3 separate regions of the Homo sapiens genome follow, and all the other regions are linked to region 1. Evidence: promoter capture Hi-C in human tissues and cell types (Jung and others, 2019). All regions are on one chromosome and are shown on one strand. The core of a region is centred on a gene start or on the middle of the fragment in contact, and the rest is flanking DNA. Distances in the headings are between cores, read along the strand shown.

Evidence for each region. Contacts are between HindIII fragments. The study calls those that stand out against the background at their distance.
Region 2: a fragment that was not itself captured here is called in contact with the fragment with the promoter of HAO2 in region 1 in 1 of the 25 tissues and cell types used here (H1 embryonic stem cells).
Region 3: a fragment that was not itself captured here is called in contact with the fragment with the promoter of HAO2 in region 1 in 1 of the 25 tissues and cell types used here (psoas muscle).

Annotation. Positions count from the first base shown.
Region 1 is chr1:119,366,950-119,370,710 of GRCh38, reverse strand. It overlaps HAO2 (hydroxyacid oxidase 2), which reads right to left and starts at 1,926. Exons shown (of 8, transcript NM_016527.4): 1 at 1,809-1,926. HAO2-IT1 (HAO2 intronic transcript 1) reads right to left here and starts at 1,765. Exons shown (of 2, transcript NR_046780.1): 1 at 1,703-1,765; 2 at 380-627. The HindIII fragment of the contact is 9,840 bases long and covers 1,102-3,761 here.
Region 2 is chr1:119,306,448-119,310,208 of GRCh38, reverse strand. No RefSeq gene overlaps it. Among named protein-coding and RNA genes, the nearest start is that of LINC01780, 20 kb to the left of the region's middle. The HindIII fragment of the contact is 6,234 bases long and covers 1-3,761 here.
Region 3 is chr1:119,333,660-119,337,420 of GRCh38, reverse strand. The region is part of intron 2 of LINC01780 (long intergenic non-protein coding RNA 1780); the gene reads right to left. Among named protein-coding and RNA genes, the nearest start is that of LINC01780, 7.3 kb to the right of the region's middle. The HindIII fragment of the contact is 3,396 bases long and covers 331-3,726 here.

The sequences.
Region 1 (3,761 bases), core at 677-3,176:
GGAACTAATGACTGAGGGAGTCAGTGGAGTAGAGAAGACAGACTATATTATAAGCTTTGGCACTTGGCAAACATAGGCTGAAATCTCAGCTCTACTACTGGCTCACCACGGTTCTGTGCAAAATTTATTTGTTAAAGGAGAATATTAACATCCATCCCATAGGGCTGCCATGAGGACTAAGCAGTATGGCCCCTTTGAAATTTCTAGAACAGTGCCTTGTATAGACTAGATTGTTAATAAAGGCAGCTCCATGTTCATTATTCCTCCTGTTGATGACATGTGTGATTTCATCTGAGGCTCTGGAAGTGGAAAGCTGCTTCAGGATTTGAGTATTTCTGTCATAGTATAATTTAAACCCTCTGTCAGATTTACTCATTAGTTTATCCAAGAAGGTTTATTGACACACACTCTCAGCCAGGGTGGCGGAGGCATATACTGCTCCCCACATGCTTAACATTTCGCTGTTGCTTAAATACAGGCATGGCTCTGTGACTAGTTCTTCTGGCCAATGGCCTGGGAGTGGGAATAGCAGGTGTGAATTCTAGGCCAAGGATTGAAGAGCTGGTATGTGACCCTCCAGCTTTGTTTCCTCCTCTACAGCGATCCTCCATCCTCAAGAAGGCAAAGCTGTAAGAGAAAGGCCACTTGGATTCCCAAAACGCCATTTGGAAAAGGGTAGCCCTGGAGATCAGCTGATATTGTGTAAGGAAGAAATAAATATTTATGTGTTATCTCACTAAGTTGTTAAGGTTTATTCTTTACTATAACATAGCCTGATTTAACATAATATATCAAAGTATTATGCTAAACACTAGAGATATGGGGGGGGACCTTTATCACATCAGTTTCTGCTCTCAAGAAGCTTACAGTCGAAGAAGACAGACTTTCATAGCTCATCATTTGATAGCTGATACGATTTAGAGTACAACAGGAGTCCCTTTGAGGGGAGAGTTACCTGGGAATTTGGCAATATTCCCATTACCTCTCAAATGATATACCACAAGTGATGTTCCACTCAATCTATTCTAGACAAGCTCCAATTCTCATCTATCTTTAAATTAGGTTATTACTGTCTATCTCATAGGGATCTTGTGAGAATTGAAGGATCTTGTAAAATGCAGAATATAGTAGTAGTTAAGAATAAAAGTTTGCGGATTTTGCTTCCTGCTAATGGACGCTTTATTCTGTTCCATTGATCTGTTATCTATCTTTATACCAGTACCTCCCTGTCTTCATTAGCGTTCTTGGCAGTTCTCCGCAGGTTGATCTGTAGATTCAACTTAACACAATCAGAGGCTCTTCATTAGTGGGACTTTGTAACCCATTTGTTCCAAATAAGCTTATTGCTCAAAGGAACTACATTGTTTGAGACACATTAACTTCTTTACTTTTTTAGGAGCATAGCCATGTCACTGTTTTCTTTTGCTTGTGGCCGGGAAGCAGTGGTCAGAATACTAAATATATCCCTGAAGGCAATAGCAATACCTTTTAGGTTTTCAGAACGCTGTCAAGTGAAAACATTTTAACCCATTTTTCCTCCTATGGACACCCACGAATATTCCACCATACAATTCTAAGACTCAACTTCCTAGACTTAACCTTCTCTGTCTGTATCCTTTTTGAAACCAAATCTTCCTTTGCCCATGCCCTCTGAGTTCCCTAACACCTGTCTCCCTAGGACCATCTTTGCCAAGGTCCTTGCCTTGCAAACTCATAGTTGGCTTCCACGATATCTTCCATTCCCATCCTATCTGGCACTTCATCACCCTTCTCAGTTCCAAGCACACAGAACACACTCAATGACAAACCTTATTCTAATGTCTTCCAGTCCTCAGGGAAAGAAGTGTTTAGACGCAGCCACTCAAAGCCTGGCTCACTGCCGGAGGTGTTAGGAAACACACCACATCACTACCCACAGTTCAGGCTAAAGAAGAGGCTGAAGTCTCAAAGTTAATCTTTTAATGAAAACATCCAGCTTAGCAGTAAATAAGCAACTAGGCCAGAGCAAGGTTGACTTTGAAAGAATTTTGCTGACTTTGCAAATTTACTTCAAAATTAAGTGAAGTTTATTACAAAATTAAACTTCAAAGTGAAGTTGTAATTTCCTACCTGAAATCACCCATTCCCTACCTCTAAATTCAAACTTGATGTTGTCCTCTGCTCATCACAGATTGTTAGAGGTAGGGAGTGGATGATTTCAGGTAGGAAATTACAAAAGTCCCCGGGTTGGAGGAGGGGCTTTTTGTGGTGATGGGGTTGGGGTGGGAGAAGAGCAAGCACAGCCTGGGAGCCCATGGGCAGGACAGCAGTGGGGACCCAGGCCAGGACGGTCCGAGCTTTGGGGATTTTGGAGGGTGCATAGTGTAGAGCCCTCCCTGCCCACAGAACTGTTCTGGGGAAGTAATTATGTCTAGATTAATATGGGAGTCAGGGAGAACCAGTGAAATTTTTGAGTGGAAAATTATTCAGGAATGTAGAAGAAATGCTAGGAAAAGCAAACTTAAAAGTACATGGAAAAATAGAATTAATTTCTCCAGAAGAGTTCTGTAGGGGTCCCAGAAAGGTCACTAATTTGTCCAGGTCTGTTCGTCTCCACTCCTCCCCCAGCTCTTGCCACTGCTCCTTAGTATTGCCACAGCTCACGTGTGTGATGCGCTTACGACGTGCCAGACACACTACACGCATTACTTCATTTGATCTTCACGGAAGGTCAATCTTTTCAAGATTGTCTCTTTTTCAGAAGAGAAAATGAGATTAACGAACATGCCCAAAGCCTTTCAGCAGTAAAGAGCAGAATTGGGATTTGAACCTAGCCTGTAGCCAACACACGGAGCAGAGGAGGCCGAAATCCTGAGCTGTACCGATGACCATAGCAGTGGGGTTTGCCTTTCCTTTAGAACCTGTAGTTAGAGAGCAAAATGATGAATTTACCACTGACTTGTCATACCATCTCCACTCAAGGCTCATTGGCTATTTATTTGGAGGGTAATCCCTACCTGCTATCTAGCCACTAGAGGACAGTATTACCTCAAAAATGCTTTCAAAAGTAGCCAAAATCTGGGTTCTGGAAATTTCTTTTCCATAGCAATTTTCACAATCTCCATAATCAGCCTCTAGGCCATGTCCTCGGTCAGCTCTCACAACACCTGGCCTGCTCACAGTCCCCTGATCCAGACCCTCCCTTGCTGTTTTCCAGACTCCGACTCTGTCTCTCCCTTCCAGAAGGAAGCCTGGTGATGAGCACACACTGGAACATGGTGCTCAAGCTCCAAACTGCAGCCACTCACTCACTAACATCCACATGTTACTTAAATTCTCTGTGCCTCAGTTTCCTCATAATACCTCCCACACTGTAATGAGAAGTAAGTGAGTTAATACTTAAAAGATGCTGGCAGTAGATAGAAAGAACAGTAGAGCTTCTCATGAGAGATTCTCAAGTTTGAAATAATGACCTTCTTGGAGACCTTTTAAATCTGATGATTGCACTGAGTTAAAGAACATCATCTCTACAAGGTAACACACTCTAATATCAGCCTCTAATGTTTGCACCTAAGTGAACTAATCTCAAATAGGGGATATAGGGCCACAGGCAGAGCTATTTGAGGCAGCATTTTTGCAGCACCTCTTGAATTCCAGAGAATGGGTCCATGGATAAGACAGACCAGCTTTGGACCCACCAGCAGGCTTGGAGAATGTTTCAGGATGAGGTTATGAAAAGATATTGGTTTTATTCAGGTGGTCATAGGGTACCCATTGAGCAA
Region 2 (3,761 bases), core at 382-2,881, 60 kb after region 1:
ATTTGATCCTCCCCACAAGGCTGAGTTTTATTAGCCTTTGTTTTTCACAGTCTTCCTCATTCTTATCTTTTATAGTTTAGAATTGAGAAGCAGTTGACTTTGCAACCCCACCACTCCCTGAAGTTTTAGATGCTCTCTATTCTCTTTCATTCCTATTTCCAAGTAAGTGAATTCTTTGCTGAGACCATCTCTTGCTTATAGGACCTTGACAGGTATAGCCAACAGCAACCAGTGCACACTACGATATTCTTTCCCAACCTCTTCTCCTAGTTAGAAGCACGATATGGCTCCAAAATAGTTAGATGCATGATATGCCTGCAAAATGACTGAAGGTGGCAACTTTATAAAATGCTTTGCCATTAAATGAAGTGGATTACCAACTTTCAAGCCTCTAATATCAGTTTTCTCACAACCTATCACCTGGCACATAAGCCAATGTCATATATTTCGGGACTGTTTTTTTTCCCCCATTTGGCCATATTATTGTTGTTGCTATTGTTATACTAGCCCTTCTTTCGGCTCCAATATTTGTATCAGTAGAATAGTCTAGGTTATGCTTTGGTAAACAACCACCCTAGAATTTTAGAAATTTAAAACAACAAAGGTTTTTGGTTACTCAGACTATGTGTTCAACAAAGATTGTCAGGAAGACTTTGCTCATTGTAATCACATAGGCACCCAGGTTGATGGGGGCTCTGTCACTGCACCCAGCATGGGAGGGTCTTCGGCTGATAATTAAATGCTCCAGCCTCAAAGGAACTTGCATCGTGTCCCCGTACTACTCATTAAGTAGCACTAGACATATGGCCATGCTGCCTTCAAAGGGTCACATCCTTAATCCATTGAGTGGTTTTTCTTTTTTACTTTCCTATCCTAGATACACAAAGCAGGCCACTGATAATAACATCTACCTGCTTCAGTGGTCCAGGTGAGAGTGATAATGGACGTGAACTTACGGATTTGAACTTTTTGAAGATCAGTCAAGATCAAGACAGTGAATAAGACAGGGAAAGGTCCAACTCAAACAAATCCAACTGTGGGTTGGTGGAGAAAGATGATTTTTTTTCAGCAATGATAACTCTGAGTGACATTCAGGCTAAAACAAAACCACCAACCCACAGAAAAGCACCTCTAATACCAAAGGGTGAGTGTTTCAGAGCATGAAGGAGGAAAGCCAACAACTAAAATTCTTTGTCAACCGCGCCTCCATTTAGCCTTACTATTAATAATTGAGTCCTCACTTAAACAGCAGCTTGTAACCCCAGACCTCCAAACCTTGCAGCTGCTCATGGCTGTGATTTTTACTTTACACATACAGAAACAGATGCTGAGACCTACTTTTCTATCTCTCTGACCTTACACTGTAGTTCTTTTATTTTCCTCTCCAAGTCTCCTTTTGAGATTGATGAAAACTCTGTGTGTTAGAAAAAGAAGCCCTTTCCATTTTCCTACCCAAATTCCTCCTCTGTCAAGTTTCTTAGTTTCTATGAAGGAGTTACTGCTGCAGAATCTTCAGACTTCATTATTAGGTTTGGTTTTGGTTAATGTCTTTTAATGATGTGGAGAGAGGTGATAACTGCATATTAATAAGATTCACAAAAGGAGCCAAATGGAAATCTGTTGCAAACTCCAGTGGTGACAGCAATAAACTAGAACTCTGGAGAGAACTGACTGACAAGCAGGGAGCAACAAGATGTGCTGAAACCTGCACATGTGATACTGACACTGCAGGGGAAAGAAGCAGAAGTTTAAACATTTTTTTTTAAAGGGAAGAAGCAATGTATAAAACAGCAGTCAGAGAAGTCTTAAGGATGAAATGAAAAAACAAATGCTGAAATTGCAAAAACCTAGTCTCCACGGGAGGAAGTTGAAAGGATGTGGTAATTCTGCTGACTTCACTCAGCACCTTCCACCTTACCTTTCTCCCCCATGATGATGGTCACAGGTCCCAGGTCGAGAAAGCCAGTATATCCCAATCTCATAAACACAGTGGTTCTGGTGTAGACATGTAACCTGATGAGTCAAATAAGACTCGTTTCTTGGATTTTGTATTTTATTTTATTAGAACTAGTATAAAAATAAGAAGCTTTCTTCCTACAAGGATTGGAAGTTATACAGGTAGTATAAACCTATAGCTGTCAGAGTTCACCTAATAGAGAAGACCTGGCTGTGACTGAAATCAACATAAAGAAAAGCAGAGTTGACAAGAGAGAGAGAGAGAGAGGGATAGGGGAAAGGGGAACAGAGGGAGAAAAAACAAAAGAGAATAAGCCTTCTGGAACCAGCCACGCCTGATGTCATAACCTTTGATCGCTCAATTATGTGTATTAATAAATTTCTTTTTGTATAAGGCAGTTTCAGAGCACTAACCCAAGGTATCTTTTCAAACATACTGCCTTTTTTTTTCTATACCCTTTACTTTCTAGCCATACTGGATGACTCCAATTTCCAGAGTATTTTGGAAAAATTATTCTTCTGAGGTCTCGCTCAAGCAGCTTTCCTCCCCTTATAATGGAATAACACTGATTCTGCTATATTTGTGAAAATTCTCCTATCCTCAGGGTCCAGTTCAGACTATCTCTTTTGGACATTCCTCCTGAACATTCAGTGGGATGTGATCTTTCCCTTCTTTTTTATTATATGTGAGTAGACTAGTATAGATTTGGAAAGTTTGAATAAGAACAAAGTTGGAGGATTAAGACTACTTGATTTGAAGAATCACTATAAAGCTATAGTGATTGTGTCAGTCAGGAGTCTCTAGAGAAACAGAACCAATAGGGTGCTTTTCCTCTCTTTCTTACTCTCCGTGGTGTGTGTGTGTGTGTGTGTGTGTGTGTGTGTGTGTGTGTGTGTGTCAGTTGGCTCAATTCATATGTATATCACACGATCGTGGGGGCTGGCAAGTATGAAATTTGTAAGGCAGGGTGGCACTGGAAGCCCAGGCAGGAGTTGAGATTGCAGTTGTGAAGCAGAATTTCTTCTCCTCCTGGAAACCTCAGTTTTTGTTCTTAAAGCCTTTCAAATGATTGATGAGACTTACCCACATTACTGAGGGTAACCTCCTTTACTTAAAGTCAACTGATTTTTTGTCCTTGTGATAGTTTGCTGAGAATGATGGTTTCCAGCTTCATCCATGTCCCTACAAAGGACATGAACTCATCATTTTTTATGGCTGCATAGTATTCCATGGTGTATACATGCCACATTTTCTTAATCCAGTCTATCATTGTTGGACATGAGAACACTTGGACACAGGAAGGGGAACATCACACACCAGGGCCTGTTGTGGGGTGGGGGGAGGGGGGGAGGGATAGCATTAGGAGATATACCTAATGTAAATGACGAGTTAATGGGTGCAGCACACCAACATGGCACATATATACATATGTAACAAACCTGCACGTTGTGCACATGTACCCTAGAACTTAAAGTATAATTTAAAAAAAAGTCAACTGATTGGAGATGTTAACCACATCTACAAAACGTTTTCACAAAAAAATCTACAAAATACCTTCACAGCAACATCTAGATAGATGTCTGATTGTACAACTGGGTACTATAGCCTAGCCAAATTGGCACATAAAACTAGACTTCACAGTAATCAAGACAATGTGGTATTGGTATAAAGATAAACAGATAAACTGATGGAATAGAATAGAGAGACTAAATAGCAAAGTACACACATATGGACAAGTGATTTCCACAAACGTCCAATGGCAGAAAGTAGTGAGAAAATAGTCTTTTATACAATAGATTAATTG
Region 3 (3,761 bases), core at 779-3,278, 33 kb after region 1:
TGGAGGGGAGTGGGAGCCACTCTAGAATGCAGAGAGGAGGCCTGCCACAGCTGCTAAAAGTATTGCTACTGTCCCTAGGCTTCCTGATAGGTCAGCTGGAGCATGGGACATGCCACTCACATATACAAGGCTGTTTATGTACAGGCTGGGGCCTGACATTTCATTTTTGTATTCATCCTCATGCCGTTCTTTCAAGGGAGGTTCCGTCTTATCTTGGTTTGTTTATAAACATCCAGCCCAGCAGTCCCCTGCACACTGTAAGGGTTAAATCTTTGTTGACATGGATTGCAAGTCATTGTCCACGGGGCTTGGGTGGGGAGGGAAGCTGGGATTAGCCTGGAGCCTCCGTAGAAGATCTGCTTCATCCTAACTTACATTCAGAACAGTAAACAATTCTTAGAATGCATTTCACAAGTGCAACACACTCATTTTAGTGTCCTGGATATGGTCCAGGGAATTGTAATCTAAATTCTCCATTTCATATGGTCATGTTTCTAACATTGCCCAGAAAGGTCATTCCTGGGTTGCAATGGATTGAGAGGCAGGAAATAAGAACTCAATCTTGGCCCCACCACCAAATCATTCTGTTGTTCTAGGTCCTTGAGCAAGCTGTCTCCTGACTCTGCTCTCAGTTACTCCATCTGGGAAACGGGAATAACAAACTCCCTGTCGAAAACATGAAGATGAATTAGAGATAGTATTTTTAAAGTGATTTCCCAGCTAGAAAGAGAATGCTGCATATTTCATAGATGCTCCCAGGGACAAAATCACACACATGTAGTAGTCATTTTCTTTCCTCTGGAATTGAGAAAATATAGAACTTGAACTGGGAAATTCATTGTTCTAATGTTTGAGAGGGTGTGGATAGTAATCTTAAAAAATCAGCCAGTCACAGCTGATGTTGAGAAAGGGTAAACCACTAGTGGAATCAATTGGCTTTAGATGGAGGCAGCGAAACCTCCAATCAAATAGCTCACTAAATCCTAGTCTTGGCTCTGGCTCAAATCCCCTCACTAGAGTCTTAAAGTATGATGGGAAGCTTCTGGCGTTATACCTGGCACGGCACCACCCTGGGGTCCAGCTGGCCTTATAAAACTCTTTCACTCATACACAAGGCTGCTCCTGTTCACCATGCAGGGAAGGCACCCACTGTGTGCTCTCCTGGTGGATGCAGGTGGTAGCCAAGGTGGAAAGTCACGTTGACCCTCCAAAGCATAGGGCTTGGTACCTTGTGGGCACTCGGAGATCTCTGTCCTGGAAATGAATGAATGAAGGTACTTGTTCCATGCAGCTGAAAGTTTGGGCAGCTTTCCTTACCCTCTCCTGGAAGAAGACACAAGTCTGTGCACACTAAAGGGACATTTGGTGGGCACCCAAAGCTTGAGAGAGGTTGGCAGTAACAAAACTAACACCTATGTAATACCTGCTGAACGTGCCAGGCATAATTAGAAGCATTTTTAAGTTTTTAACGTGTTTAATCTTCATAATAATCCCATGAGGTATGCTCTGTGATTATTATTCCCATTTTACAGATAAAGTCAAGGCCCAAAGGAGTTCTGTAACTTGCCTAATGGTTAGGATGCTGGATGATCTGAATGCAGGCAGCCTGACTTTGGATCTCACCACCTTAACCACTCAATTATAGTGTACTTCAATGACCTATGACTCCTACCACAGGAGCAGACTTTGGGAGAAGATACCACTTGGTGTACTGTGCCACCGTCCCAGCATGAGACCAGAGCAGTTCTCAGTTTCCTGACACACTTGGGTAGGTTGGGCCTGGTGTTTCTGTTTCCTAATGGGGACACTGAGATGGAGAGCAGTTGTGTGTCTCACTCATAGTCACCAGGTTAACTGCGGCAGATCAGGAATCGGGTCTCCTGGTCCCTGCCATGCCGCTTGGGGCTCTGCAGCTCAGCCATTTGTGCCAGAGACACTCACCTAGCATACTTCTCAGCCCCGTCCCCACCAGACTCCTTTGCCCACGGCCAAAAATAGTGGCCATGCCTGACCAATCAACTGATAAGACACCTGCTTTGTGTGAAGGACTTTGGGCACTGGAATAAAAAGCCAGAAATGGAAGACTTTGAGGAACATTTAATCCAACCTCTCCTTTTGTGTCTGGAATTGGTGGGTTCTTGGTCTCACTGACTTCAAGAATGAAGCAGGGGACCCTCGCGCTGAGTGTTACAGTTCTTAAAGGCAGCGTGTCCAGAATTTGTTCCTTCTGATGTTCGGATGTGTTCGGAGTTTCTTCCTTGTGGTGGGTTCCTGGTCTCGCTGACTCAGGAGTGAAGCTGCATACCTTTGCTGTGACTGCTACAGCTCTTTTTTTTTTTTTTTTTTGAGACGGAGTTTCGCTCTGTCGCCCAGGCTGAAGTGCAGTGGCGCGATCTCGACTCACTGCAAGCTCCGCCTCCCGGGTTCACGCCATTCTCCTGCCTCAGCCTCCCGTGTAGCTGGGACTACAGGCGTGCGCCACCATGCCCAGCTAATTTTTTTTGTATTTTTAGTAGAGACGGGGTTTCACCGTGTTAGCCAGGATGGTCTCGATCTCCTGACCTCGTGATCCGCCCGTCTCGGCCTCCCAAAGTGCTGGGATTACAGGCGTGAGCCACCGTGCCCGGCCGTGACTGCTACAGCTCTTAAGGCGGCGCGTCTGGAATTGTTTGTTCCTCCCGGTGGGTTCGTGGTCTCGCTGGCTTCAGGAGTGAAGCTGCAGACCTTCCCAGTGAGTGTTACAGCTCATAAAGGTAGTGTAGACCCAATGAGTGAACAGCAGCAACATTTTTTGCAAAGAGCCAAAGAACAAAACTTCCACACTGCGGCAGGTGAGGCGAGAGGGTTGTGCCTGCTGGCTGGGGCAGCCTGCTTTTATTCTCTTATCTGGCCCCACCCACATCCTGCTGATTGGTCCATTTTACAGAGAGCCGATTGGTCTGTTTTACAGAGAGCTGAATGGTCCGTTTTGACAGGGTGCTGATTGGTGCGTTTACAATCCCTGAGCTAGACACAAAGGTTCTCCTAGTCCCCATCAGAGTAGCCAGATACAGAGTGTCCATTGGTGCATTCACAAACCCTGAGCTAGACACAGGGTGCTGATTGGTGTGTTTACAAACCTTGAGCTAGATACAGAGTGCCGACTGGTGTATTTACAATCCCTTAGCTAGACACAAAAGTTCTCCACATCCCCACTAGATTAGCTAGATACAGAGTGTCTACACCAAGGTTCTCCAAGTCCCCACCAGACTCAGGAGCCCAGCTGGCTTCACCCAGTGGATCCGGTACCGGTGCCGCAGGTGGAGCTGCCTGCCAGTCCCGTGCCATGCGCCCGCACTCCTCAGCCCTTGGGTGGTTGAGGGACTGGGAGCGGTGGAGCAGGGGGCGGTGCTCCTCGGGGAGGCTCCAGCCACACAGGAGCCCACGGCGGGAGGAGGCTCAGGCATGGTGGGCTGCAGGTCCCGAGCCCTGCCCCGCGGGGAGGCAGCTAAGGCCCGGCGAGAAATTGAGCACAGCAGCTGCTGGCCCAGGAGCTAAGCCCCTCACTGCCCGGGGTTCGCAGGCCTGCCGGCCGCTCAGAGTGCGCAGGCACTGAGCCCATGCCCACCCAGAACTCGCGCTGGCCGGCAAGCCCCATGAGCAGCCCTGGTTCCTGCCCGCGCTTCTCCCTCCACACCTCCCGGCAAGCTGAGGGAGCTGGCTCCAGCCTTGGCCAGCCCAGAAAGGGGCTCCCACAGTGCAGCCGTGGGCCGAAGGGCTCC